Linked DNA regions of Homo sapiens: all the other regions are linked to region 1. Evidence: promoter capture Hi-C in human tissues and cell types (Jung and others, 2019). All regions are on one chromosome and are shown on one strand. The core of a region is centred on a gene start or on the middle of the fragment in contact, and the rest is flanking DNA. Distances in the headings are between cores, read along the strand shown. Region 1 holds the start of AP2M1 (adaptor related protein complex 2 subunit mu 1). Region 2 has its middle 4.0 kb from the start of VWA5B2. Region 3 has its middle 13 kb from the start of HTR3E-AS1.

Region 1 (4,008 bases), core at 684-3,183:
CTTGAGAATTTCTCAACGATTGCTCATGCCTGTCAGTATCAGTGCTTCCATCGTTCCATCTTTGATTCACTTCTCTTTCCTTTCTATTTACTCCCAAAATGGAGTCATTCATCCTGATGTCCTCAATTGCTGCTGATATGCTGGTGATTCCCAAATACATAGCTCCAACCCCCAACTTCCCCCAGACTTTAGATCTGTATTGGTATTACCTACTGGACATCTCTATGGACAGTTCCGTATAGACTCAACTCATCTGCCCAACCAAGTATGTTCCTCCTGAATTCCTCTCCTGGTTACTTCATCACAATCTACATAGGCTCACCAGCTAGAAACATTTATGAGCTTACATTCCTTCTTCCCATATCTTATCAGCATATCATATCCATTTCACTCCAACACTCTGTCTTGAATTTGGCCCTCCCTCTCCCCTCTCTACTTTAATTCATTGGAGCATGGGATTTGGAGTTAGGTGGTTTTGGGTTTGAATTCCAGCTCTACTATTTTTGGTTGTGTGATAGAGTTATTTAACCTCTCTGAGCCTCAGTTCCCTCGTATGTAAAATGATGATAATAATACCTACCTCACAGGGTTGTTGTGAGGATTTAAATTAGATATTGTACGAAAAGTGCCTAGCACAGTGCCTGGCACACAGTAGAGTAGGTGCTCAATAAATGGTAGCTATTATTATTATTATTTTATCATTATTATTATTTACTCTAAATTGGTAGCAGTTTAGGGTATTTTTGGAAGATAAAGCTTTTGCAAAGGTAGAAGTGAAGCCTTGAGTGCTGGTTCAAAAATTAGAAGTGCCTGTATTCAGTCACTTAATGACTTCAGGCCGTGACTATGATGTGAGAGAGGTCAGATCTTCATCCTGCCACATCGTGGCTTCTGGCTGGAGGCTGGGAAGGACTGTAACATTTGCAACCAGATCTGTCCTTTCTTGCCCTTCCTTCCTCCCATGACAGGCGTAGTCCTGCCCAAGGAAGGCAGCAGTTTATCTCTGCCTACAGAAAGAGAAGAGCCAACAGATTTTCTTAAGACTCTGCAAGAACCAAGCAGGCCTTTCATGTGTGAGGGTTGGGTCTGTCTCCTCAGCTTGGATGTAAAGATTCTGTTTATCAAAGAGGGGATTTCAAATCCCATGTCAAACTAAATTCAACTCTTCGAACGTCTTCTAAGCAACATATATGCCTGTCACTAGAAGGCATACACAGTCGCATAGGTATAGCTAAGGAGAACATCGGCTCGTTCATGAAAAGCTGTAGCTGACCTCCGGGAAGAGTGTACAGTCATGGACTTATTTGTGAAAAGGTTTAGTTTCTTCCAAGTAGTCGCCTCCTTCCTCCCCGCTCCTCTCCTTGGGTCTTGATCCCTTGGAAAAAGCTCATGTCCGGAACAAATATATGAGAAAAGCTTGAGAGAATCAGAGGTAGTGTTAGAAAGCAGTAAATTCAGCACAAACACTTCTACTGCCCAGTTGTATTTATTTGTGTGTAAAGTGAGGACAGCCAGTCCTGGGACTCTGGAGACAGAAAAGGCCTACAGCAATCCAAGGCTTAACAGATGTGCTTCCACAAATGGCATTAATATCCCAAAGCTCTCCAGAACACAAATAGGAACAGGAGGAAGTGCAGGGACTACAATTCCCAGAGCGCTCAGTGAAAAAAAAAAAAAAAAAAAAAAAAAAAAAAAAAATGAGGCGGGTGGAGCGGTGTATGCTGGAATGTGTATTTCTGGTAGGGCCGACTAAGGCCACGCCTACCCCTTCCTGAGGCGGGGGCGGTTTCTCGAAGGCAGTCGGTAGTTGTAGTTTTGCTAAACCTAGAGCGCTTCAAATTGCAAGCAAGGAGGCCGCGAGGCCTGACGGGATTTGTAGTCGGCGCTAGACGCCGGCGCGCACGCGCAGCCGGGGCCGGGGCGGGGCGGCGGCACTGCGGTGAAAGCCGAGGCAGCGGGCAGACGAGCAGGGGGCGGGCGGACATCTTGGGATCCGGAGAGTGGCCGGGCCGGCAGAGCAGGGGGCCGAGGACACCAGGTGAGCCGGGGATCTGGCCTTATGGCGTGGAGGAGGACGCTGCGGGTCGTCTGCCTCGCCGCGCAGCTTTGTCCTGCCCTGCACTGAGCTGGCGGAAAGCTGCCCACACCCGGGAGTGGCTTCAGCCTTCGGACCCGGGAGCTAGCTGACGGTGGGGCGGGGGCGCCCGGGGCGCGATTGCAGGGCTGGCGGGGAGCGGTGCCCTCCACCTGACCCGCCTGGCGCCTCCCATGAGAGGGATACCGCTTGGAATCCTCCCAGAGCAGGAACGCTGCGCAGCGCCCCCTCCCTAGGATCGTGCCAACCCCCTACCCCTCCGCGCAAGGACAATTTCCCCGTCTCGTAGGACAGTGACACCCCTTTGTGCCGCCGCCTTGCACCGTGACAGGTCTCACGCCATGCGGCACCCCCTCCTCTTAGTTCAGTGGCACCCCGCGGCTCTTCTTCCTTAGACCTGTGACAGCCCCCGCACCCCCATGGCACCATCTTTTCCCACAATGTCCTCCCCAAGGCGAAAAGCCTACCACCCTCTCATTACTCTGCACCTGAACCCCAAGCAGGCTCTGTCTCCCCAGCTTTCCCTTATTCACCACTGTCAGTTCCCCCGGCCGGTTTTTCCTTCTTAAAGCCTTGACCTTTTCCATACTGGAAACCCTTACCTTTACGTTCACTCCACCAGCCCAGTTTGCTGCTGTGGGCTCACCTGAGGACGCTGCCTGGCTTTCACTGAAGGTCTTTCCCCTTAACTAAATGTTCCATTCTTGCCCAAGGCCCCCCTCTGGTTCTCGGGTGCCCTTCGCTACCTACCACTCGATACCTGTGGACTTGGTGCTTTGCCCCAGGCTCTACCTCCATTTTGCATCTCCTCTCCCAGCCTGTTTGGGACTGAGGGATGGGATGAGTCCACCACCTTGAGAGACCGCTCACCCCTCTGGAAGACCTTGACAGCCACAGGAAAAGGCTTTATTTTCCAGTTTAGAAAAGTCCTCTAAAGTACTCCCTGTGAAATTAATACCAGGGCTAATCCAGGAAATCTAAAACCAAATTAATGCCTTTTCTCAAACAGTCTAAATTAATTTGACCCAAATAATTTGGATAATTCAGGCATCCTGACATCCCTGCTTCTTGCTTATAGGCACCCAGGCCAGAAATGAGTTACTTCATGGGCCTGGAATCACGATTTCAGATGGAAGGATTTCTTAATTTTATGAGCCTGCGCCACCCCCACCCCCCAGTCCTTATTTTTATTGCATTCCAGAGCTTTTTGAAAGGGGGGTGGTAATCAGAAATAACTGTAATAAGCAGCTTGGGTGATGGAAGTGTAGTCTGCCAGCCCTAGGACCTTCCTCCTGTGCCCTTTGCCTGCTTATTCCACTGCCTGGAAGAGGTTAAGCCACACTCCCGGGTCCACATTAGGGCCTAAGGGCTCCCTTCTCTTCTCCTTATACCCTTTCCTGGAATGTTTGAATTCTGTGAATTAGAGTGCCGGAAGTTCAGGCCCTGCGACCTTCTCTGAAGGGTAGTGGAGCCCAAGAGACTGGATGCTCTAAAGGTTATGCCTGGGGGCCCCAGGCCTGAACCAACTGGAGTAATGCCTACCGCCATTCCTGCAGCCGCAGGCAGGCAGGCAAGCCTTAGTGAGTCACTGGCGGGAGCCCGAGAGTCTGCACAGGAGGGGGCCGAAAAGGATCATTCCTGAGCTCAGTGCTGGGGAGAGGGGGCGGGGGTTACTGATGCTCAGCCCCAGGAAAGGGAGGGTCAAAATGGCCTTAGAATCCTGGGCCTAATCTCTCTCTGTTTCTTTCTCCCATCTAGTGTGGAATAAACAGGAACTGGAGCCTGGCTGAGGGGAGGGGCATGTCTGGGAGGGCTGCAGGGTCACTTACTAAAGGGTTGAGTCAGGAAAGAAGCTCCAGTGACCTGCACAGCTCCACAGGGGATGTTGGCAGCGATTCTGAGGTCTTCTTTTA
Region 2 (4,008 bases), core at 920-3,419, 51 kb after region 1:
CTTGGGAGGCTGAGGCTGGAGAATTGCTTGAACCCAGGAGGCAGAGGTTACAGTGAGCCCGGAAGGCTCCATTGCACTCCAGCCTGGGCCACAGAGACTCCATTTCCAAAAAAAAAAAAAAAAAATCAATCAATCACTATTGCAAATGTGCTAAATATCACTAATGGCAAATTTTATGTTATGTATATTTTACCACAATAAAAAATAGTGCATTTTACTACATGTAAATTATACCTCAATAAAACTGATGTAAAATATTATTTAGGTAATTAATGGATGCTAAAACTGGTGGGTGAAACTTTGATGACGATTGGAATAGTTACATACAATCAAATTGTCTCCCTACAAATGTACTTATTTAATTATGAAAAGAAAAATAGTAGCATTATAGTGGAGAAATCTGGCAAGCAACACCCGTGATGGTTAATTTTATGTGTCAACTTGAAGTGTTTTTGAATGAGATTAACACTGAAATTGGTGAATTTTGAGTAAGCACATTGCCCTCCAGAATATGGGTGGGTGTATGAGTCACAGTTCTCCAGACAGACAGAACCAATAGGGGATAGATGATGGATGAATGGTTGGATGGATGGATGGATGGATGGATGGATGGATGGACAGACAGATAAATAGATAAATGGATGAGAGGGGATTTATTAGGCGAATTAGCTCACATGACTATGGATGCTGAGAAATCCCACAACCAGCCCTCTGCAAGCTGGAGACCCTGGGATGTGGCAGTCCAAGTCCAAGTCCAAATCCAAAGGCCTAGAGCCAGGGAAGCCAATGGCGTAACTCTCAGTTTGAGGCCATCGACAACCTGAGAACCTGGGAGGCCTCTGGTATAAGTCTCAAGGCCAGAGAGCCTAGAGTTCTGATGTCCAAGGGCAGGAAAAGGAGTGTCCCAGCTCCAGGAGAAGGAGACAGAGGAAATTCTTTTCTCTCCTTTTTTGTTCTATGTGGGCCACCAGCAGATTGGATGGTGCCCTCCCACAATGAGGGCAGATCTTCCCTACTCAGTCCACTTACTCACATGCCAATCTCTTCTAGAAACACCCTCACAGATGCACCCGAAGGAATGTTTTACCGCTTCTCTAGTCTTCTTTTTTTTTTCCAGACTATAGTCAGGCTTCTTTTTTTTTTTGAGTTGGAGTTTCATTCTGTCACCCAGGCTGGAGTGCAGTGGCGTGATCTCAGCTCACAGCAACCTCCGCCTCCCAGACTCAAGCAATTCTCCCACCTCAGCTGGGATTACAGTTGTCCACCACCACACCTGGCTAATTTTTGCATTTTTAATAGAGACAGGGTTTTGCCATGTTTGCCAGGCTGGTCTCAAACTCCTGACCTCAGGTGATCTGCCCACCTCGGCCTCCCAAAGTGCTGGGATTATAGACGTGAGCCACCGCGCCTGGCCCCGGCTTCTGAATAGGTCTTCCTTAATTTAGTCAAGCTAAGACCCAGAGTTAACCTTCACAATGTTCCTCATCTAATCACTTGAGGCCTGAACAGAACAAAAAGATGGACCTCCATGAGAAAGAGGAAATTCTCCAGCAGGCTGCCTCCAAATTTCATCTGCACCATCCGGTCTCCAGGGTCTTTAGCCCGCCAGCCCGCACTGGACTTGCCTGTACAAGCACACGAGCCAATTCCTTATTTTATATATACGTATTCTCTCTCTCTCTCTCTCTCTCTCTCTCTCAATCTCTGTTGGTTCTGTTTTCTCTGGAGAACCCTAACACACCACCTTATTGAAAGGATCAAAGTTAAAATCGCCAGTAACTGTAACTGACATGTACATCCTCCCAATGAGATATAGTGAGAAGGGTACAACGTCACTTATGTGGTGTTCCTATGGGAAGTGCATATCCTGAATCTAATTATGAGGAAACAACAGACAAACTCAAACTGACGGACATTCTACAAAACAACTGGCCAGTACTCTTCAAATGTGTCAGTATCACAAAAGACAAAAAGGAGAAACTACTCCCAGTAGAAGACTCTTAAAGGCTGGGAGCAGTGGCTCACACCTATAATCCCAACACTTTGGGAGGCTGAGGCAGGCAGATCACTTGAGGTCAGGAGTTTGAGACCAGCCTGACCAACTTGGTGAAACCCCATCTCTACTAAAAATACAAAAATTAGCTGGGCATGGTGGTGGGTGCCTGTATTCTCAGCTACTCGGGAGGCTGAGGCAGGAGAATCGCTTGAACTGGGAGGTGGAGGTCACAGTGAGCTGAGATTGCACACGCACCACTGCACTCTAGCCTGGACTACGGAGTGAGATTCCATCTCAAAAAATAAAAATAAAAACAAAAACACAAAAATTAGCCAGGCATTCTGGCGTGCACATGTAGTCCCAGCTACTCTGGAGGTTGAGGCATGAGAATCACTTGAACCCGGGAGGCGGAGGTTGCAGTGAGCTGAGATTGAGCCATTGCACTCCAGCCTAGGCAAAACAGTGAGACTGTGTTTCAAAACAAACAAACAAACAAACAAATAAAAAAAACTACCCCCCCCCACACCAACTGGCTGGGCATGGTGGCTCACACCTGTAACCCCAGTACTTTGGGAAGCCAAGGAGGAAGGATCCTTTGAGCTCAAGAGTTCAAGACTGCAGTGAGCTATGATTGTGCCACTCCACTCCAGCCTGGGTGACAGAGTGAGACCCTGTCTCTGAAAAAAAAAAAAAAAAGAAAAGAAAAGACAAACCGAAGTGTTTAGGGGTAAAGAGGTCGGATGTGTAAAACTTAATTTGAAATGGTTCAGAAAAAAATGCTTTATTTGCAACTTTTGTAGAAGTTTTGAAGTTATTTTGAAATACAAAATTTAAAAATTAATTGTTTAATTGACGTCTTTCGTGAGGGGAGGGGCTACCACTGTCTTGTTTTCTGCTGTAGTTCCAGCTCTAGCACACCGCAGGCTTCAACAAGAAATATTTCTTGAGTGAACAAATGAATTAATGAACTAAACCATCTTCCAATTTGGGTTTCAGGCAGGGGCTGGGATTTTGGAAGTCAAGCTTTAGACAGCAAGAGGCAAAATTCCTCTTTTTCTCTAGGTATATCTCTTCTGGAGCTCCAATCTGAGAGGGTAGATCATCTATAGTTTGGGGAAATAAGACCTCTGCCCTCCAAAGGCCGACAGGCAGCCCACAAGCAGGAGATAATTGAGTTGTGCTTTGCAACAAGAAGACCTGGCTGAGTGCCATTTTCTAAGTCAGTTCCCTAAGGTTCACCCTATTCCCCACATCACCACCACCCTTGGTTAAGATTTGTTTTTTAATTTTTAATTGTTATGGAGATAGGGTCTCCCTATGTTGTCCAGGCTGGTCTCAAACTCCTGGCCTCAAGGGATTCTCCTGCCTTAGGCTCCTGAAGTGCTGGCATTACAGGTGTGAGCCACCGCCAGCCAGTTAAAAGCTTTTATAATATCCATTACTATTACTCTTGTAATGCAGCACTTATCTCAAGCTACTGTAACTGTATATTTGTCTGCCCTTTTCACTAAAGTGTGAGACTCTCCTAGGCAGAAGCTAAGTCTTTTCAGCTCAATATCCTCCTATGGGCCAGGCGCAGTGGCTCATGCCTATAATCCTAGCACTTTGGGAGGCTGAGGCAGGCAGATTGCCTGAGCTCAGGAGTTCAAGACCAGCCTGGACAACATGGTGAAACCCTGTCTCTACTAAAAATCCAAAAAATTACCCAGGCATGCTGGTGCTCGCCTGTAATCCCAGCTTCTCAGGAGGCTGAGGCAGGAGAATCACTTGAACCTGGGAGGCAGATGTTGCATGCAGTGAGCCGAGATCGCTCCACTACACTCCAGCCTGGACGACAGGGCGAAACTCTGTCTCAAAAAATATATCTATATATCTATATCTATATGTATATCATCTATATCATCTATTCTCCTATGACTACCACGTAGCCCACCCCATGCTATCCCTCAGCCCGGCCTCAGATCTGGAATCTGGTTCCTGTGCTGTCCCCTTCTGCCCTTGGCTGTCATGCT
Region 3 (4,008 bases), core at 1,038-3,537, 56 kb before region 1:
AAGGAAAAGTACATTGATCAAGAACTCAACAAAACAAAGCCTATCTGGACCAGAAATCCTGACGCTATTACTAACGAGGAGTATGGAGAGTTCCATCAGAGCTTGACCAATAACTGGGAAGATCACTTGGCAGTGAAGCACTTTTCAGTTGAAGGGCAGTTGGAAGAGTTGAAGGACAGTCGAAGAGTTTAGAAGAGCTCTTTTTGTTTCAAGATGTGCTCCTTTTGACCTATTTGAAAACAGAAAGAAAAAGAACAACATTCAGTTGTATGTACACAGAGTTTTCATCATGGGTAACTGTGAGGAGCTAATCCCTGAATACCTGAACTTCATTAGAGGGGTGATGGACTCAGAGGATCTCCCTCTAAATATTTTTTCTGAGATGTTGCAACAAAGCAAAATTTTGAAAGTTATTAGGAAGAATTTGGTCAAAACATACTTAGAACTCTTTGCTGAACTGGCAGAGGATAAAAAGAACTACAAAAAGTTCCACGAGAAGTTATCTGAAAACATAAATCTTTGAATATATAGACTCTCAAAATCAGAAGAAGCTTTCAGAGCTGTTGAAATAGTGCACATCTGCCTCTCGTGATGAGATGGTTTATCTCATTGTGTTTTCCAGAATGAAGGCAAACCAGAAACATATCTATTACATTACAGGTGAGACCAAGGACCAAGTAGCTAACTCAGCCTTTGTGGAATGTCTTCAGAAGCATGGCTTAGAAGTGATCTATATGATCGAGTTGATTGATAAGTACTGTGTCCAGCAGCTGAAGGAACTTGAGAGTAAGACTGTAGTGTCAGTTGCCAAAGAGGGTTTGGAACTTCCAGAAGATGAAGAAGAAAAAAAGAAACAGGAAGAGAAAAAAACAAAGTTTGAGAACCTCTGCAAAATCATGAAAGACATGTTGGAGAAAAAAGTCAAAAAGGTGGTTGTGTCAAACTGGTGACATCCCCATGCTGTATTGTCACAAGCACATATGGCTGGACAGCAAACATGGAAAGAATCATGAAAGCTCAAGCCCGGTAAGACAACTCAACAATGGGCTACGTGGCAGCAAAGAAACACCTGGAGATAAACCCTGACCATTCATGATTGAAACCTTAAGGCAAAAGGCAGAGGCTGATAAGAACAACAAGTCAGTGAAGGATCTGGTCATCTTGCTTTACTAAACTGCACTCCCATCTCCTGGCTTCAGTATGGAAGACCCTCAGAGACATACTAACAAGATCTATAGGATGATCAAACTTGGTCTGGGTGTTGATGAATATGATCCTACTGCTAATGATATCAATGCCGCTATAACTAAAGAAATGCCGCCCCTCAGAGGAGGTGATGACACATCACGCATGGAAGAAGTAGGCGGCTCTGGCTGAGGAATGACTTGTACATGTGTTCAATACTCTATCTTCATTCTCTCTGATAATATATTTTCAGGATTATTTTAGTTATTTTTGTTAACATTTAAAAAGTCTGTATGGGGGCCGGGCGTGGTGGCTCACACCTGTAATCCCAGCACTTTGGGAGGCTGAGGCAGGTGGATCACCTGAGGTCAGGAGTTCGAGACCAGCCTGGCCAACATGGCGAAACCCAATCTCTACTAAAAAAAAACAAAATATTAGCCGGGTGTGGTGGTGTGCACCTGTAATCCCAGCTACTCAGGAGGCTGAGGCAGGAGAATCATGTGAACCCAGGAGGCGGAGGTTGCTGTGAGCTGAGATCACGCCATTGCACTCCAGCCCGGGAGAAAGTGGGAGACTCTGCCTTCAAAAAAAAAAAAAAAAAAGTCTGCATGGCATGACAATAACTATTTCAGGGGGAAGGTAAGGTTTCTTTCTACTTCTAAGTGATTTTGTGATACTTCTAAGTGATTTTGTGATACTTCAGGCACTAAAACAGAGCTAGCAATGCTTTTCTAGTTTCACATTGGCTTATTTTAACAGATTGGGGTAATGTGTGTTGTAAGATGTATGTAGGCTGGGTGCGGTGGCTCACGCCTGTAATCCCAGCACTTTGGGAGGACGAGGCGGGTGGATCACCTGAGGTCAGGAGTTCAAGACCAGCCTGGCCAACATGACAAAACCTCGTCTCTACTAAAAATACAAAAATTAGTTGGGTGCTATGGCAGGTGCCTGTAATCCCAGGTACTCGGGAGGCTGAGGCAGGGGAATTGCTTGAACCCAGGAAGTGGAGGTTGCAGTGAGCCAAGATCACGCCACTGTACTCTAGCCTGGGCAACAGAGAGAGACTCCACCTCAAAAAAAAAAAAAAAGAAAGAAAGAAAGAAAGAAAAGAAAAAAAAAAGATGTATGTAACCTAACATTAACTTTGTGATCTAAACTGTTTAAGCTATCAAGCCAGATTCCTTAGTAGGCCAAATCTTTGTCACTGAAGTTTTCTGAGAAATACCTTGATGTTTAGAGGAAAAGTATTTGTTGCATCTTCTAGGATCTACTTTTTAAACTTTTCATCCTGTAGTTGCCAATTCTGCATGTAATTGTCCTCTGGAAATATGTTAAACTGAAGCAACTTGATGGAAGGAACTCTCCACAGGACTTGTTTTCCAAAGGAAAATATTGTTTGCAGGAGCAAAATTATAAGCCTACCTAGGCATATTGTAAAGCTGTTCAGAAATAACCCAGAGCGAGGCTTGTGAATGGAACTGTAGTACCCAAGTCACATTCTGCTTAAAAAGGTTGTAACAAATACAGATGAGTTTAAAAGAAAAAAAAAAAAAAGGCAGAAATGCAACAGGCCCAGAATAATCAAAACAATCCTGGAGCAGAACACAGTTGGTAGACTCACACTTCCTCATTTCAAAACGTACTGCAGGCCAGGCGCGGTGGTTCATACCTGTAATCCCAGCACTTTGGGAGACCGAGGCGAGGGGATCGCCTGAGGTCAGGAGTTTGAGACCAGCCCGGCCAAAGTAGCAAAACCCCATCTCTACTAAAAATACAAAAATTAGCTGGACATGGTGGCGTGTGCCTGTAATCCCAGCTACTCGGGAGGCTGAGGAAGGAGAATCGCTTGAACCCAGGAGGTGGAGGTTGCAGTGAGCCGAGATCGTGGCACTGTACTTCAGCCTGAGAGACAGAGCAAGACTCCATCTTAAAAAAAAAAACTTACTACAAAGATATTGTAATCAAGATAGTGTGATACTGGCATAAGGAAAGACATATAGGTCAACGAAATTCGAATGGAGAGTTCATAAATAAACCCTAACATTTACGGTCAATTTATTTTCTACAAAGGGAACAAAATAATTCAATGATAAAAAGAATAGTTTTTTTCAGCAAATGGTGCTTAGACAACTGGATATCCACATGCAAAAGAATGTCTTTGGACCCCTACCCCTCACACCATACACAAAAATCAACTCAAAATGGATCACAGTCCTAAACATAGGAGCTAAATGTTTTCTTAGAAGAAAACATAGCAGTTAATCTTCACGATCTTGGGGTGGGCTATGATTTCTTATATATGACTATTATAAGCACAAACGATAAAAAAGAAAGATAGATAAGCCTGGGCGCGGTAGCTCATGCCTATAATCCAAGCACTTTGGGAGGTCTAGGCAGGCGGATCACCTGAGGTCAGGAGTTTGAGGCCAGCCTGACCAACATGGAGAAACCCTGTCTCTACTAAAAATACAAAATTAGCCGGGCGTGGTGGCGCATGCCTGTAATCCCAGCTACTTGGAAGGCTGAGGCAGGAGAATCACTTGAATCCGGGAGGCGGAGGTTGTGGTGAGCTGAGATCACACCATTGCAATCTACCCTGGGCAACAAGAGGGAAACTCTATCCCAAAAAAAGAAGAAGAAGAAAGGAAGGAAGGAAGGAGGGAGGGAGAGAAGGAAGGAGGGAGGGAGGGAGTGAGGGAAGGAAGGAAGGAAGGAAGGAAGGAAGGAAGGAAGGAAGGAAGGAAGGAAAGAAGAGCAAGGAAGGAAGGAAGGAAGGAGAAATTGGACTTTATCAAAATTTAAAACTATCATGCTTTAAATAAA

Evidence for each region. Contacts are between HindIII fragments. The study calls those that stand out against the background at their distance.
Region 2: a contact is called between a fragment that was not itself captured here and the fragment with the promoter of AP2M1 in region 1, in 1 of the 25 tissues and cell types used here (adrenal gland).
Region 3: a contact is called between a fragment that was not itself captured here and the fragment with the promoter of AP2M1 in region 1, in 1 of the 25 tissues and cell types used here (hippocampus).

The regions. Positions count from the first base shown.
Region 1 is chr3:184,172,922-184,176,929 of GRCh38, forward strand. AP2M1 (adaptor related protein complex 2 subunit mu 1) reads left to right here and starts at 1,934. Exons shown (of 12, transcript NM_004068.4): 1 at 1,934-2,038. It overlaps DVL3 (dishevelled segment polarity protein 3), which reads left to right. Exons shown (of 15, transcript NM_004423.4): 15 at 1-693. RefSeq lists enhancers at 1,982-2,051, 3,584-4,008 and a silencer at 2,262-2,311. The HindIII fragment of the contact is 8,082 bases long and covers 1,087-4,008 here.
Region 2 is chr3:184,223,548-184,227,555 of GRCh38, forward strand. No RefSeq gene overlaps it. Among named protein-coding and RNA genes, the nearest start is that of VWA5B2, 4.0 kb to the right of the region's middle. The HindIII fragment of the contact is 4,117 bases long and covers 112-4,008 here.
Region 3 is chr3:184,116,522-184,120,529 of GRCh38, forward strand. It overlaps the pseudogene HSP90AA5P. Among named protein-coding and RNA genes, the nearest start is that of HTR3E-AS1, 13 kb to the left of the region's middle. The HindIII fragment of the contact is 9,466 bases long and covers 1-4,008 here.